Linked DNA regions of Homo sapiens: region 2 is linked to region 1. The links are contacts of gene promoters, found by promoter capture Hi-C in human tissues and cell types (Jung and others, 2019). All regions are on one chromosome and are shown on one strand. The core of a region is centred on a gene start or on the middle of the fragment in contact, and the rest is flanking DNA. Distances in the headings are between cores, read along the strand shown. Region 1 holds the start of CNPPD1 (cyclin Pas1/PHO80 domain containing 1). Region 2 holds the start of FEV (FEV transcription factor, ETS family member).

Region 1 (7,008 bases), core at 2,528-5,027:
ACAGCACAGCCAGAGCAGACTCGAACGCAGAACTGCAGAGAAGAGCAAAAGTCTAAGAACATCACGCTGAGATATGCGCCCCGCTCGGCTGGGTAAGAAACTACTGCTCAGCTGGTAGAAGGATGGGTATGTACTCAAGGAATGGGGTGGTCCAGTTTGGTTAAGAGGATGCTCAAGACCACCAATTCAGGAAGCTGGCAATACATAATGCCCACCACCTGTAATTCACACTGGTCTGCCTTGGCAGGAGAAAGTGTCAGGCTATCAAAAGCTTATTTCCTGAGGTGAGACTGCCTCCTGCACCAGGGATTAGCTGTGAATGTTGCCTCAAGAAGGCGCCCAGGCCTCTTCTTTCAGGGTCTCCAAGCGGGGAGTTTATATCACTCCACTCCCATCCCCCGCCACCTCTATTCCCCTTCAGTGTAGTGAACTGTTGTATGATGTAGGGGAGGTTACCTGAGCTGGATTCTGCCTCTTGTACTGCAGCAGCTCCTGCAGGTGAATCTGGAAGGTGAGCCAGCTCTCAGCCAGGTATCTGCACAACTCGGGCACACTCAGCAGGTGCGGCCGGGCGCCTGACCCCGCACCCTCACTGGGGAGACATGACATGACCCCTGGAGGCCTCAGATACCAGCTTCCTAGACACTTAAATCCCTCTGAGAATGCCAAAGATATCTTTAGTCTAAAAAAGCAAATGACCCCACCTCTCAAAAGGAGGCTGTCCTGGTCTTAGAAGCAAAGCCAGGAGGACCCAACCCTCTGCCCCAAAAGGAGCAGGCACGCAAACACCTACACAGGAGCCTAGGACCATGAAAAACCCATGGCTTGTTACCAGTTCATTCACAATGCTGGGGCACTGCCCTGCTCCATGGTGACACTGGCACCAGCAAGCAGGACAGGATGTGGGCATTTGTCTTCAAGAGGTGGCCTGTACTCACCTGTCAGAGTGTGGCTCCTCTGGGGATGATGCTAGAGAGAGAGGAGGGGGGCAAATTATTGAGTGGTAGGGGCCCTGGGAGACACTCCCCAAGGCAGAAATAGTTGTCCCTCCTCTGCAGCCCCAGAGCACCTTCTTCAGATGCCAATGGGGGAGCTGTTACATGTTTTTGTTTGCGTCTGTCTCCTTTAGACATTACCCTTCTCCAACATAAGAACTAGATTTTACTCATGCTTATCTCCCAAGCAACTCACATACAGCCTGTCACCTACTAAGTAAATTATATGGATAACAAGAAAAACAACACTGACGTTCTATTTATAAGGCTTATATGTGAAACACTATCATAAGTATAGCATGTGTATTAACTCATTAATCCTCTCCTCACCTCTCTATGAAGTAAGTTCTATCATCTGTGTTTTACAGATAAGGAAATTGAGACAAACAGAAATTGAGCTACTTTTACAAGGTCACAGCAATGGTAAATGGCAGAACAGAGAATGGAACCCAGGTAATATGGCTGCAGACTTCACCATCTTAACCACTGCACCTACAGTAGTATTAGTTTGGGAAAGGGGCAATTCTCATTTTAGGGAATTCCGTACAAAAAGGAAGTGGGCCATGCCTGGGAGGCAGGTGGCCTGCTGTACGTTCCCCTCGCCACTTAACCCCACCCAGCGGAATCAGGCACCAAGCAAGTACCCAATGGGTGCTTACTGAATGAAGAAACACTCACCTGAAACGTCAGGGAGAAAGCGAGGCTGCCAGAGATCCAGCAGAAAATAGGCCAAAAGTGAGACGCTGAGTAGGAAGAAGGGCCGGAGGGACGAGGAAGACAGCAACCTTAGGGAGAGACAGGCACCTCAGCAGTGAGTGGGTGAGACAGGCTCATGCATCCATCTCAGAAGGTGGAAAGGCGCCTACTGATGGGGTAATGGCACCTCCAGGCCTAACTCGCGACTCACGACTCAGAGATAGAAAAAAATGGGCAATTCAAGCGGATGTCAGCCTGCAAAAACTGGGGATGGGTCATGCCCCCAGGCCAAGTGATAACCCAGAAAGGGGAATGGTGCTCTCGACCCCTCCCTCCCCCGCTCATCCCGGCCCCGCCCCCTCCTCCGCGGCCGTTACCAGAAGAGGCCGTTGAGCGCGGCCGCCGTGACCAGGCTGTGCAGCGGCTTCTCCCACACCAGCAACCGCTGCGCCGCCGCCAGCACCGCCTCCCAGCCGCGGAGCCGCAGCCACAGCGTCGTGGCCAGGCGTCCCACCGCCTCGGCCGTGGCCGCCTCCTCCTCTGCCTCACTGGTGGCCTCACTCATGCCTAGGCTCAGACCCAGACCCAGGCCCAGGCTCAGGCCCATCCCCGGCCCCCCACCCGCGCCAGTGTTACCCCCGCCACCGCCGCTCGCCATAGCCCCGCCGCAGCCGCCGCCCGAGCCCGCGAGGAGCCAGGGCTGCGCGGCCGCCGCCGGGGGCGCGTCAGGCGGAAGGGGGCGCCGCGGAGGACAGCAGAGGTTGCGGACGAGCGTCACGTGACTGCGGAGCGCTGAGCCCGTCACGTGACGCGGCCTAACCCCCCCCCCCCCGGATAGGGCGGGCCGCGCATGCGCCCCGGCGGCTGCCGCTGACACTGCGCCTACACAGGTTCGTTTTCTGGTTGACGAAGTACCCCGGGTTCCGAGTCCGGGTCTAGGTCCAGGCAGTCGAGCCCGTTTTCTTATCCCACAGTAGGCAGGGCGGCTAGGGAGTGTGGTGCTGCCCCGGTATCCCCGTGTGGGGCAGGAAGTGGGCTTCCAGATTCCCAGTATCCCCGGTAGGGTCTGCTTCTGCTCGCTCGGGAAGGGCGGTGGCCGTCCCATTACTCAACCAACCCTCAACGCACTGGTCCTCCCAGTTCCCTCCCCTCAGTGGGTAAACAAACACACACCAGCGCTTGACTCGACAGACTCGAAAACAACATCTACTCAGAAAAGTTGTTTCTTTCCTATCTCCTTAAACTTTCCCACTTCCACATATCGGAGCTTCTTCCCACCTCGGCCTACTCAAGCATGAGATCGGAGGCGGGAGGTGGGTTTCAACACAAAACCTTGGGTAGATGCAGTTTACTTTTGGGTGGACGTGTTGACACGTTTTGAGGCCTTACATTCGCTTAAGATCACAGAATTTCCTCAGTAGCCTTAGGTTTAAAAGTTCAAATTACAGTAAAAAAAAAAAACACCCTGAGTTTCTCTTCCTTTTCATAGTTCACCCACTGCTAAATTTCCTGTGTGTCCTTTCAGACGCTTTTCATATGCATTGCTGAGTATGTATAATATCTCTCCTAAAAAGCAACTGGGAACAACTTCCTGTTGTGCGTTTCGTCTTATTCACATTAACTTCTCCATTGCTACGCCTGGCTTGTTCATCCTCAGTGCGGCGTGGTCCCCCCTACGAATTGTCCCCATTTCTCAGAGGCGCCTGGGGCTTGGCCACGTTCCGTGAGACCAGGAGTTCGAGTCCGGTTCCTGCCCGCGGGTCGGGGCGGGAGGCTGGGCCAGATGGGCGGCAGGAAGTGCCAGGCGCTGACTTGCAGGCGGCACCCCCGCGGCTTGTAAACGCCGGGCGGACGCGGCACAGGCGGAGTACGCGCCTCGCAGCCGCATCTCCTTTCTGCTCCGCGAGGTGAGCGTCGCACGGACGCTTGACACCTCCCTTCCCGGGCCTAGGGCCCCCGCGCGCCGCGCCAAGCCCGGGGCGGAACAGGAAGAGGCGCCCAGTTCAGCCCGGGCCCCGCCTTCCGCCGCCGGGGGGAGGGAGCTGCGAGGGCGAGGGCGAGGACGGCGGCCCGCCCCGGGGAGGCAGGCTGGCAGGTGGACAGGCGGGCAAGGACAGCTCCGCGAGCCCCCTACAACTCGTTTCCTTCCGTTCACCTTCGCAGGGCGGCGACTGGCGGCGCGATGGACCTGACCGGGCTCCTGCTGGACGAAGAAGGCACCTTCTCCCTCGCCGGCTTCCAGGACTTCACGGTGAGTGGGGGTCCCGCCCCCTCCCCGGCCTCCCGGCGCGCCCCTCCCGGCCTGAGCGGCGCTGCGAGCTCGCCTGACTGCTGTGCCGGGACTGGGCGGCAGCTGCTCGAGCAGTGCTTCCTTGAGGCCGCGGCTGCTTGGGCCGGGAGGGAGAGCCGCGGAGTATAGGAATGGGCGTAGGGGTGGCCACACGAGGGCCCTTCTCGGAGAACTTCTCCCGGGGAACCCTCGATGGGGGTGGGGGCATTCCTCCCTCTATGGACCAGGCTGCCATTGGCAAGCGATTTACAGAACGCGGGTCTGGGTAAGGCACGGGCCCCCTAGCAGCGAGGCCGGCCTGTCCCCTGCCCCGCCTTCCAGCCCAGAGCCAGGATCTGCATCATACCTTTCCGTGCCCTTCACCCTCCGCTGCCCCTGCCCTGTTTCAGTTCCTCCCAGGACACCAGAAGCTGAGTGCCCGGATCCGAAGGAGGCTCTACTATGGCTGGGACTGGGAAGCCGACTGTAGCCTGGAGGAGCTCTCCAGCCCGGTGGCAGGTTAGGCAGTGTTGTGTGACTGGACAAGTGAGAAGCATGAAAATGGGATTGTCATCAGGCAGAAAATGGCTCGAGGTTTGCCCCGTGGCTACACTGTCTCTTCATTGCTAGCTCGTTGGTACTTGGTTCAAGAGGGCAGTTTGCATTTCCCATTCTTTTAGCCCAAATGAATAAAAAACATTGCTGCCACATATATCTATACAAATCACTCTTGATTTATATATTGAAAAGCTAATTTTCGAAGGATATCCATCATATGTTCCCCAAGTAAACAAGGCATGTTTATGCCACAGATGAACAGCAGTGACAGATAAATCTGGATAGTTTGATGTGACAGGGCAATAAGCTTTCCTGTTAGAATGAGCTGAAATTCGAACTTGGAATGGGCTTTTTGTCTCAGTGTGTGAGAATTTGATCTCTATTTTGTTACTATGGTCCTGTCCCCAAGGCCTCAGAAAATACAGATCTGGGTCTTCTGCTAGCAGTGGGGACTGGTGTGTTGGGTGTGGGTGCTTGTTTGCTCACTCGGCCTTCCTTCTGTCCCTTGCAGACATTGCTGTCGAACTGCTCCAGAAGGCAGCCCCCAGCCCTATTCGCCGACTCCAGAAGAAATATGTAGCTCATGTGTCCCGGTGAGCCTGGAAATGAGGATAGGATGAGAGTGTTTGGGCCCTAGAGAAAGGGGAATCGTCTTTTCTTTCTTTTCTTTCTTTCTTTTTTTTTTTTTTGAGACAGTCTCACTTTGTCACCCAGGCTGGAGTGCAGTGGCACAATCTCGGCTCACCGCAACCTCCGCCTCCTGGGTTCCAGTGATTCTTGTGCCTCAGCCTCCCCAGTAGCTGGGACTACAGGCACACACCACCGCCCCTGGCTAATTTTTGTATTTTTAGTAAAGACGGGGTTTCACCATGTTGGCCAGGCTGGTGTCAAACTCCTGGTGTCAGTCCACCCACCTTGGTCTTCCAAAGTGCTGGGATTACAGACATGAGCCACCGTGCCCAGCCAGGAATAGTTTTTTTCCAAAGATAAGAGGTAAAGACAGGAACGAGCATCATAAGACTTGCAAGAGCTGAAGGACCCTTGGGTTTAATTAGTGATCCTTTCTACCACCCAGGGAGGCATGCATCTCCCCATGTGCTATGATGCTGGCTCTGGTGTACATTGAACGGCTCCGGCACCGAAACCCAGACTACTTGCAGCATGTGTCATCCTCTGACTTGTTCCTGATCTCCATGGTAAGACACCCCCTCCCCATCTCCCTAAAGAGCCAAGAGCCTGCTATGAGCTCTGCTCCACCACTTCTGGTTCCTCTGCAGATGGTGGCCAGTAAGTACCTCTATGATGAAGGGGAGGAGGAGGAGGTCTTCAACGACGAATGGGGAGCTGCTGGGGGTGTGGCCGTGCCCACTCTCAATGCCTTGGAGAGGGGCTTCCTGAGTGCCATGGTGAGCAGCTGTTCTCTCTCTTGCTCAGTTTCCCTGGCCCATCTTTAACCGTCCTTTAGTCCTTTGTTCTCTCTCAGTCTTCTGTTGGTTCGTCATTTCTCTTCCTGTCCTCCTCCTGCCTTTGTGTTAGTGTCTTCCTTTCCTATCTCTTCAGTACTAACCAGTTTTTGGAGATTCGTAGAGCAGTAAGGCCAAGAGCAGAACATTTCCTCGCCTCCTCTATTCCTCCAGGGCCCCACAGGGTACACTCTGAGTCAGAGTTTATCCTATTGGGTTCTGAATATTTGTGTCCATACTTTCTCTGCCCCTAGATGTTTAGCTCCCTGTGGACACAGACCATTCTCAGGGTCATTTTCTCCCCTCTTGCTTAGTGGAGAGTATAATGTGAAACCAGGCAGGTGGTGATTCAATGAGTTAATGTGTAAAAACTTTTGAGACAGTATCTGGCACATGGTAAGTGCCAAATATGCATTAGCCATAGGGGCGGTTGTAGTTGCTGCTATGGCTCTTATTATTAAATGACTGTGGCTCATCCAAGTCTGGTTTGATGTCCACTCTCCGTACTCACAGGATTGGCATCTCTACACTGACCCTCGGGAGATCTTTGAGGTGCTGAGCTGGTTGGAGAGCTGGTAGGTTCTAGGAGTTGGGAAGAAGGGCTCGAGGGATTTGGGGGCTGAGTCCTCAGCCATAGGAGCTAGAGATGAGAGTCTGTGTAACTGGGGGAGGGAGGAGACAAGAAAGAGAATTGCCCAGATAGTGGTTCCCAGACCCATCTGTCCTCTTCTTCATCACCTTTGGGAAGGTGAGAAGCAGCTTATTTAAAATACATGTATTGGGTGGGTATGGTAGTTATGTCTATAATCCTAGCACTCTGGGAGGGTGAGGCTGGAGGATTACTTGGGTCCAGGAGTTCGAGACCAGCCTGGGCAATATAGCAAGATGCCTGACCCTACCAGAAAAAAATACTAGCCAGATGCAGTGGTGTACACCCATAATCCCAGCTACTCAGGAGGCTGAGACAAGAGGATCATTTGAGTCCAGGATGTTGAGTCTGCAGTGAGCTATGATTGCACTACTGCAC
Region 2 (7,008 bases), core at 2,702-5,201, 190 kb after region 1:
GCTGTAGAAGTCACCCCTCAGTTGCTAAGCCTGGGTTCTGGGCAAGTGGCAGGTGCCCATAGGCATGGCAGGGCTGAGTATGGTGGCAGCCATTAGAGCCTCTGGCACTAGTATGGGTTTTTTCCCAGTTCCCTCTTCGGTCCAGTTGGTGATGCCCCCCAACCCCCACACAGACAGAGCCTCTCAAGATTCTTGGGACTGCCTTCATCCTGTCCTTCAGGGATTCTTGTGTTTTCAAGTCCCCAGTGGACCTATCAGTGGGGAAGGGTGGCTCTAATTATTGCCCCAGGCCAGGCAGAGCAGGACAATGCCAGGGAGCAGTCAGACTTGGGCCTGAAATCCCCAGAGGTTCAGCTGTGCAAAGTCAGGCAGCTGCTCCTTTGGGAAGAGCTCCGGACCATAAGTCAGAACACCTGGGACCCAATTCCCTCACCTTGTAAACTGGGGCTATTGGCCACTGTCCTGCCTGTCTCACAGGGGCTGTTGGGAGGATTCCATGAGAAACCCCTGCAAATGTTTGTGGTGTTATGGAAAAGCACTGGGGTAGTCAATGTAGGGACCTCCTTCCCCTACCTCCCCGCTATGGATCCTAGGGTTGGGTCAGGGGACCAAGGGAGTGAGCTTTGGATGGCGTATAAATTTTGCTTTACACTCGAATGGGCTCTAGAGTCCATGGCCCTTGTTGCATTCAATCCTCCTAATACTCTCCAATTCCATCTATTTTACCAAACTGGGGGTCCAAGGAGAAACTTTGATGACATCACCCACTTAATTGGTGACAAAACCAGGATTTGAACACAGAGTTCTTGGCCCTAAATCCAGGCTGTTAGGTGGAGGCTGAACTGAGCTGTGGCTAAAAGCCACAGGCCTCAGCAGAGCCCCAAACTTCTGTGGGCCCCAGAGGAACCTGGGGTTCCTGGCTGGTCATGGGCACCTCCCCATCCCCTTGTGGAATGGCAATATTTACAATAGCTACATGTATAGAATCTGATCTAAGCCCTTCACATGTGTTATCTCATATAAACCTCATCATTCTGTATGGCAGGTACTATCATACCCATTTTATTTTTATTTATTTTTATTTTTATTTTGAGACAGAGTCTCACTCTGTTGCCCAGGATGGAGTGCGTTGGCACGATCTCAGCTCATTGCAACCTCCACTTCCTGGGTTCAAGCAATTCTTCCACCTTAGCCCCTGAGTAACTGGGATTACAGGCACCTGCCATCATGCCAGGCTAATTTTTGTATTTTTGTAGAGATGGGGTTTCACCTTGTTGGCCAGGCTGGTCTTGAACTCCTGACCTCAGGTGATCACCCTCCTTGGCCTCCCAAAGTGCTGGGATTACAGGCATGAGCCACTGCGCTGGCCCATACCCACTTTACAAATGAGGAGATGCAAGTACAGTACAGAGGTTATGTTACTTCCCCCAAAGTCACATAACCAGGAAATGGGAGAGTCAGGAGTTGAAACTAGAACCCAGGCAAACTGGCTTCAGAGCCCAGCAGGCCACTTCCCCACTGCTTGCTTTGGGGAGCAGGCAATGAGCAAAGGGAGATCTGGAATCTGCCCTTGACTGAGCTGCTCTCCCTACAGGGGTATCTGTGGTTGCTGGGAAGAATCAGCAAGATGGCTTCAGGAACTAGAAGTGTGACTCTGGACCTTCTGGTCCTCCATTCATTCTGGGCAGGCTGGCCATCTGCAGAACCACATGGGACCAGCGCTCAGCAGGGTAGGAAGGGGATGAAGGGGAAACTGCCAAGGACTCTCCTGTTGGCTTCCCTAGCTGTACTTGCAGCAGGAGGGGATGGAGAAGATCAAGACTCAGGTGGGTGGAGATGACTGCCCCCCATGCACACATTTCCTGGTGCTCCACCCCCTCAGCAAATGACTTCTGGGTAAGACTGAGGGATAAAGCCTATACTGTTGATCCTTGCCCAGCTCACAGCTGGGATATTTGGGTAGACCTCACTAGGACCCTCTCCTTTACACCTTAGCCTCCCACTGAGAGCATTAAGTGGGCGAATTTTGATGCCTCCCAGCTTTCCCAGCTCTTACCTCCTGCCCCTGGCTATTTTCTGTTCTTACCTCCTGCTCCTTGTTTTCTGTCCATAGTGGGTGGGGGAAGCAGAAAGAGGAATGAGAAGGAGAGGGATTGGGATCTTGACCCCAACTTCAAGGCCCTCACCTTCTGTGGAGCCCTGAGTTTGGTCCACAGGGAACATTCCAACCTCTAGTCTTTGCTCCCACCAGATTCCAGGTCCACATCCTGAAGGCTTCATCCCTGTCCCACTAGGATCCTCCCAGGCCCTGGGATCCCTCTTTTTCCCTCCACACTCTGCCTCCCACTCTTCTCCCTGGCTCCTTTGCACCCTCCACGAGCAAAGATGAACACTCCAGAAGTTGCAGCAAATGAGGGTGAACATGGGCCCTGTAGAACCCCAGAAGTAGGAGTTTCCAGCCATCCTCAATCAGGCATCCCAGGACCAGGCACTTAGCAGGAGACCTGCCCATTCCCAGGCCTCCTCCACCCCTGGGCTCAAGCAGTGAGAGAGGACTTTGAGAATGCCAGTTTTGACAGTACCCGTTCCATACTGCAAGGCTGCAGAAGGTGGGCTTCTGGGCTGGAGCCTCATCTTCAGCCAGCATCCTCCTTAGCCTGCCTCTCCAGAGCCACGAAGCCCCATAGGTACCCAGAGAGACTCCAGGCCACTTGGGAACCACATCAACATCTTTGCATGAGTTAGAAATAGGAATCCTTTTCTTGGAGTGGATTCCAGCCTTGTACAGTGCACAACCCTGTCTTAACCCCTCCACCTCTCCAGCCTCGTTCAGGGATAGCCAGAATGGGAGTAGTGGTGAGGGTGGGTGGCAGACTGGGAGGACAGGGGATGGGGAAGGATGGGAGCAGAATAGTTGTACAGGGAAGTAGCAGGGGGCTCAGGAACCCATCAGGGAAAGCCAGGACAGATTCTCAACATCTTTAGAGGCCTTCAGCAGTCCAAGCCACTACTAATTTATGGGGACTGAATGAATGAGAAAAGGAGGGGAGGGAGAAGGATGAGAGGGAGAGAGAAGGCTGGAGGGGAGATGAGAGTCGGAGAGAAAAGCCTAGGAGGTAAAGAGAGACCTAGAAGGGGGCGGGGAGGACAGAAGAGGGGGCCACCCATCATAAGTTGCCAGGAGAGATGGCCCAGCACCAGGCCTGAGGCTTGGGGGCCCCAGAAAGGCAGGAAACGGGCCAAAGCAAGAAGGAGACGGGGAAGGGGTTCGGGTCTCTAGGGAAGAGCAGAGAGTGGGAGAAGAGGAGGAGGGAGCGGGGATGCGGGCAGAGATAAAGGGAGCAACGGCTGCAGGGCCGGGCGCGCAGCGACAGGCGAGAGGGAGGGAAGCGGAAATTTAAAAGTGAAGATGCAGATAACGCAGCCTGGAGACGGGAACCCGGGTGGGGATAGAGGGAGGGAGGGGGAGGAGAGTGAGCGGCGAGTGGAGCGGGAGCCGACTGGAAGAAGGGCTCTAGGGAGGGGGCTGTGGCTGCTGGGGTCCGAGGTGGGGCCGGGTACACCAGCCCCATCACTGTTTGCAGAGAGTCAGGGAGGCGGAAAAGACACGCGCTCTAGGCTCCCATCAGGGCACATGGCCCGGGCCCATCCCCCGCGCGTCTCCCCGGCTGCGGGGCGCGGGGGGCTGCCGGGTGCGCTTGGCTGTGGCGCGGCGCGTTGGAGACTTTATTGCGATGGGACGATAAGAGGGGCGGGGGCGGGGTCCTGGGGGCCGAGGCGGCAGCGCTTTAATTAAAACGGAAATTGCGGCCCCGGGCCGCGCGGGGGCCGGAGGGTTCCAAGCGGCCCCTTAGCTGGAAGCGTTTCTCCAGGACCCCCCCGCAACCCCCGCCACGCCCGGGCTGCCCCCTCCCGCCAGGCCCTGCCGGACCCGGCGCCGTCTTCTCCTCCTTGTCACCCGCGGTCGCTTCGGGCGGGGATCGGTGCCACCGAGCGCAAAGCCTGCCTCGCCCCCCTTCCCCGTCCCCCCCATCTCCCACCGCCCAGTCCCCGGCGGCGATGAGACAGAGCGGCGCCTCCCAGCCCCTGCTGATCAACATGTACCTGCCAGGTACCAGGGACCAGCCGGAGGCTGGTGGCACCGGAACCTGGGGCGGGAAGTCTAGGCTCAGGCATGGGAAGAGAGTGCTGGGGTCCAGGGGAAGGAGAAGTGTCCGGAGATTCGGGTTGCATGGAGGGCCGATTGTAATGTAGGGCACTGGGGAGACCTAAAGGCAGATAGAGAGCTCTGGGTTTCAGTGCAGGGTCTAGAGGAGTTGAAATGAGCAGATTGGGAGCCTGGGGGCCAAGAGCCGGGACTCAGGGACCCGAAGGAGCCTGAGAGGGGAAGCACGGGTCTCTGGCGTGGTGGAGTACTCTGTGGCCGAGCCGTACCAGAAGGCTGTGGTCCGCGGGCGTCTCCCCTGCGCTCTCACGGCTCCTCACCTTCCTGCTACGAGCTTCAGGCCGGCCCTCCAGGCACCCTCCTCTTCTCTTCGCGCTCCAGCTCGGCTGGCGCAGTTCCCCGCTCGGCTTTATAAGGCTCCAGCCGGCCCCTTCGGAAAGCGGATTTCCTTTTTCCTGGACGCGTTTCCTGACTTGGGCTCTATGGAGGGGCTCCGCGCAGCGCGCCTGGACCAGGCTCCGGGAGGAGGAGCCGGGTGGCCCGGGCCCCCAGCCTCGCGCCTGGGGACCACAGCACCCCCCTTAAGCCTTGGCCCGGGGCCCTTTTGTCAAGCCCACAACTTCCGCCCGGGGTTCTCCTGATTCTTTTCTTCTGCTGCTTGCAGATCCCGTCGGAGACGGTCTCTTCAAGGACGGGAAGAACCCGAGCTGGGGGCCGCTGAGCCCCGCGGTTCAGAAAGGTGAGATGGCCGGCGCGCTGGGCGGCGGAGGCGAGGTTGGTTGGGGTCAGGGCACAGGCGGACAGTAGGTGGGAGCAGTGTGGACCCAGGGTTCACACTGAAGCCCGGAGTCCTGGCCTGGTTGTGCGGAGGCCTTGGGAAGACAGTCACTTGGTTTTTGGCTCCTGCATCTCCTGAGCACCAGGAAAAGAGTTGCAGGCCAAGGCAGATGGAGAGGATCCCAGCCCCAGGCCCTTTTGCTGCTGTGTATGGTTTTCCAGGCTTTGGGGCAGGGGCTGGGACACTTAGCGTCCTTTCCCTGCTGGTAGTAGGAGCTCAAGGCCGCAGCACCAGCCGGCAATGGAACCGGGGGAATTACTCCCCAAACACAGCGGGCTTCCCAATCACTAGACCCTGGCTACTGCCACCTGCTTCACCCTCCGGCGCTGACTCACGCCGGCTGATCTCTGCTGGCCAACTCTGCCAGACGATTGCAATTGATTCCCAGGTTCACCACCAGCGCTCCACGGGTAGTCGCTAAATTACCCTTTTGACGGCTGGCTCTTCAAGCAGCGTCTCCCCACAGTCCCCATCTCAGTCGTTACCCTAGATCTCACCAAGAGACAGAAACCACAAAAACGAGGTTGGCGACTGTTTTATCCAGAAGGAAACTATGCCCAACAGGAACGGTCATCCAAGCCGCTGAGGTTGCTCCGCCTTTGGTGCCAGGTGCACCTTTGTACCCAAACCTTCCCTTGCTTCTGACCCTAAAACTTAACTCTGGGGACCAGAAACCAGGAAGCTCTTTGCTGGGCTGGCTTGAAGGGATTGGGATTGAAATTATGGGGAAGGGTAGCGTCTGGATTCTAAGCCAGTGGCTGAAAAAGTAAGAGGGGTTCAAAAGACTATATTTGAGGCAGTAAGCAGACCACTTTGAGGAAAATCCGTTTTATTCTAAAAGGGAGTGGGGGTAATTGTATCGGGATTTTTCTCTGCCTGTCTGCTTGAGGCTCCAAGACAGGGGAGCAGGAATTCTGGGACCCCACTCTCTAACCACTCGCATATCCTGGAAAAACCTCCTTGCTGCCTCCAGCAACCGAATTCGGAGGGAGATCACACAAAGACAGGAGGAGGTTGGTAGCCAAGCACAACAGCTGCTCGGTCCGTTCCCCTCCTCAGAGTTGTTCATCAGGCCCCGAGAACTATGGCACCTTCGTAGGCAGGGAATCCCGCCTGTTCCGAAAATAAGAGGCCAAATTCTCAGGGCCAGCGCAGAGGCCTGCGCACCCGAAGGTGGCTAGGATAGTGAGCCCATGAGAGCTTGCCCCTCCTGTCACGTATAGGGGGCCACTGTTCGTTCCTACTCCTGTCGGATGTGGTGTCCCAAGGGAGCCAGCCACCACTCCACCTCAGGAGTAGCCTGTCCAACTACGTCTTTGGGGACTCGGGACTAGCTGGGCCTTGTCCAGCAGTGGTTGGGGTCGTCCTGCTGCACGCCTGTCCCTTCCCACCTCTGGATGTGGTCCAGCTGGGATGGGGCAGTCCGATCATTCTGCCCAAGGCCGCCCTGTACGGTTGTGCGTCTTTTCCCTAAATAAGGGCGCCCGGCTGAGATGGAGAGTGGCGGCGGATATCTGTCCTTGCTCGCCTTGGAAAGCCAAGTGCCTTGGTGCGCCGCTGCGCTCACGTGGGGGGAGGCAATGCTTCCCCTTCCCCCCAACCCCCAAGTTCCACAAAACCGTGCATCTGGAAAGCTACGTGCTCTTCAGTGGAAGCCGCATTTCCATTGTGCAAAAGCGCGGTAAGGCTACACACCACTCTGCTGATCAGCCCCTCCGGGGCCGGCCTCTCCCGCCGAACGCAGCTGCAGTTTGACTTGCACTTTTCCTCCCCCAGTGCCGGTTCCTGCCGGGGTGGGTCAGTTTCCCGCCAGCACTCTTCCCCAGTTCCCGCCTCCCCGCTCCCGCCTGTGGCTGACCGCCCCCCTCCCCACAGGCAGCGGACAGATCCAGCTGTGGCAGTTTCTGCTGGAGCTGCTGGCTGACCGCGCGAACGCCGGCTGCATCGCGTGGGAGGGCGGTCACGGCGAGTTCAAGCTCACGGACCCGGACGAGGTGGCGCGGCG

What was found. Contacts are between HindIII fragments. The study calls those that stand out against the background at their distance.
Region 2: a contact is called between the fragment with the promoter of FEV here and the fragment with the promoter of CNPPD1 in region 1, in 1 of the 25 tissues and cell types used here (IMR-90 fibroblasts).

What each region holds. Positions count from the first base shown.
Region 1 is chr2:219,173,694-219,180,701 of GRCh38, reverse strand. CNPPD1 (cyclin Pas1/PHO80 domain containing 1) reads left to right here and starts at 3,777. Exons shown (of 8, transcript NM_015680.6): 1 at 3,777-3,942; 2 at 4,371-4,479; 3 at 5,030-5,111; 4 at 5,594-5,714; 5 at 5,796-5,924; 6 at 6,495-6,556. The coding sequence starts at 3,874. It overlaps RETREG2 (reticulophagy regulator family member 2), which reads right to left and starts at 2,427. Exons shown (of 9, transcript NM_024293.6): 1 at 2,069-2,427; 2 at 1,674-1,780; 3 at 939-969; 4 at 457-592; 5 at 1-32. The coding sequence starts at 2,349. RefSeq lists silencers at 1,993-2,062, 3,513-3,562, 3,633-3,842, 3,963-4,022, 3,861-4,155 and 2 more and an enhancer at 2,232-2,732. The HindIII fragment of the contact is 7,594 bases long and covers 1-6,502 here.
Region 2 is chr2:218,982,127-218,989,134 of GRCh38, reverse strand. FEV (FEV transcription factor, ETS family member) reads left to right here and starts at 3,951. Exons shown (of 3, transcript NM_017521.3): 1 at 3,951-4,111; 2 at 4,830-4,904; 3 at 6,879-7,008. The coding sequence starts at 4,060. The HindIII fragment of the contact is 32,237 bases long and covers 1-7,008 here.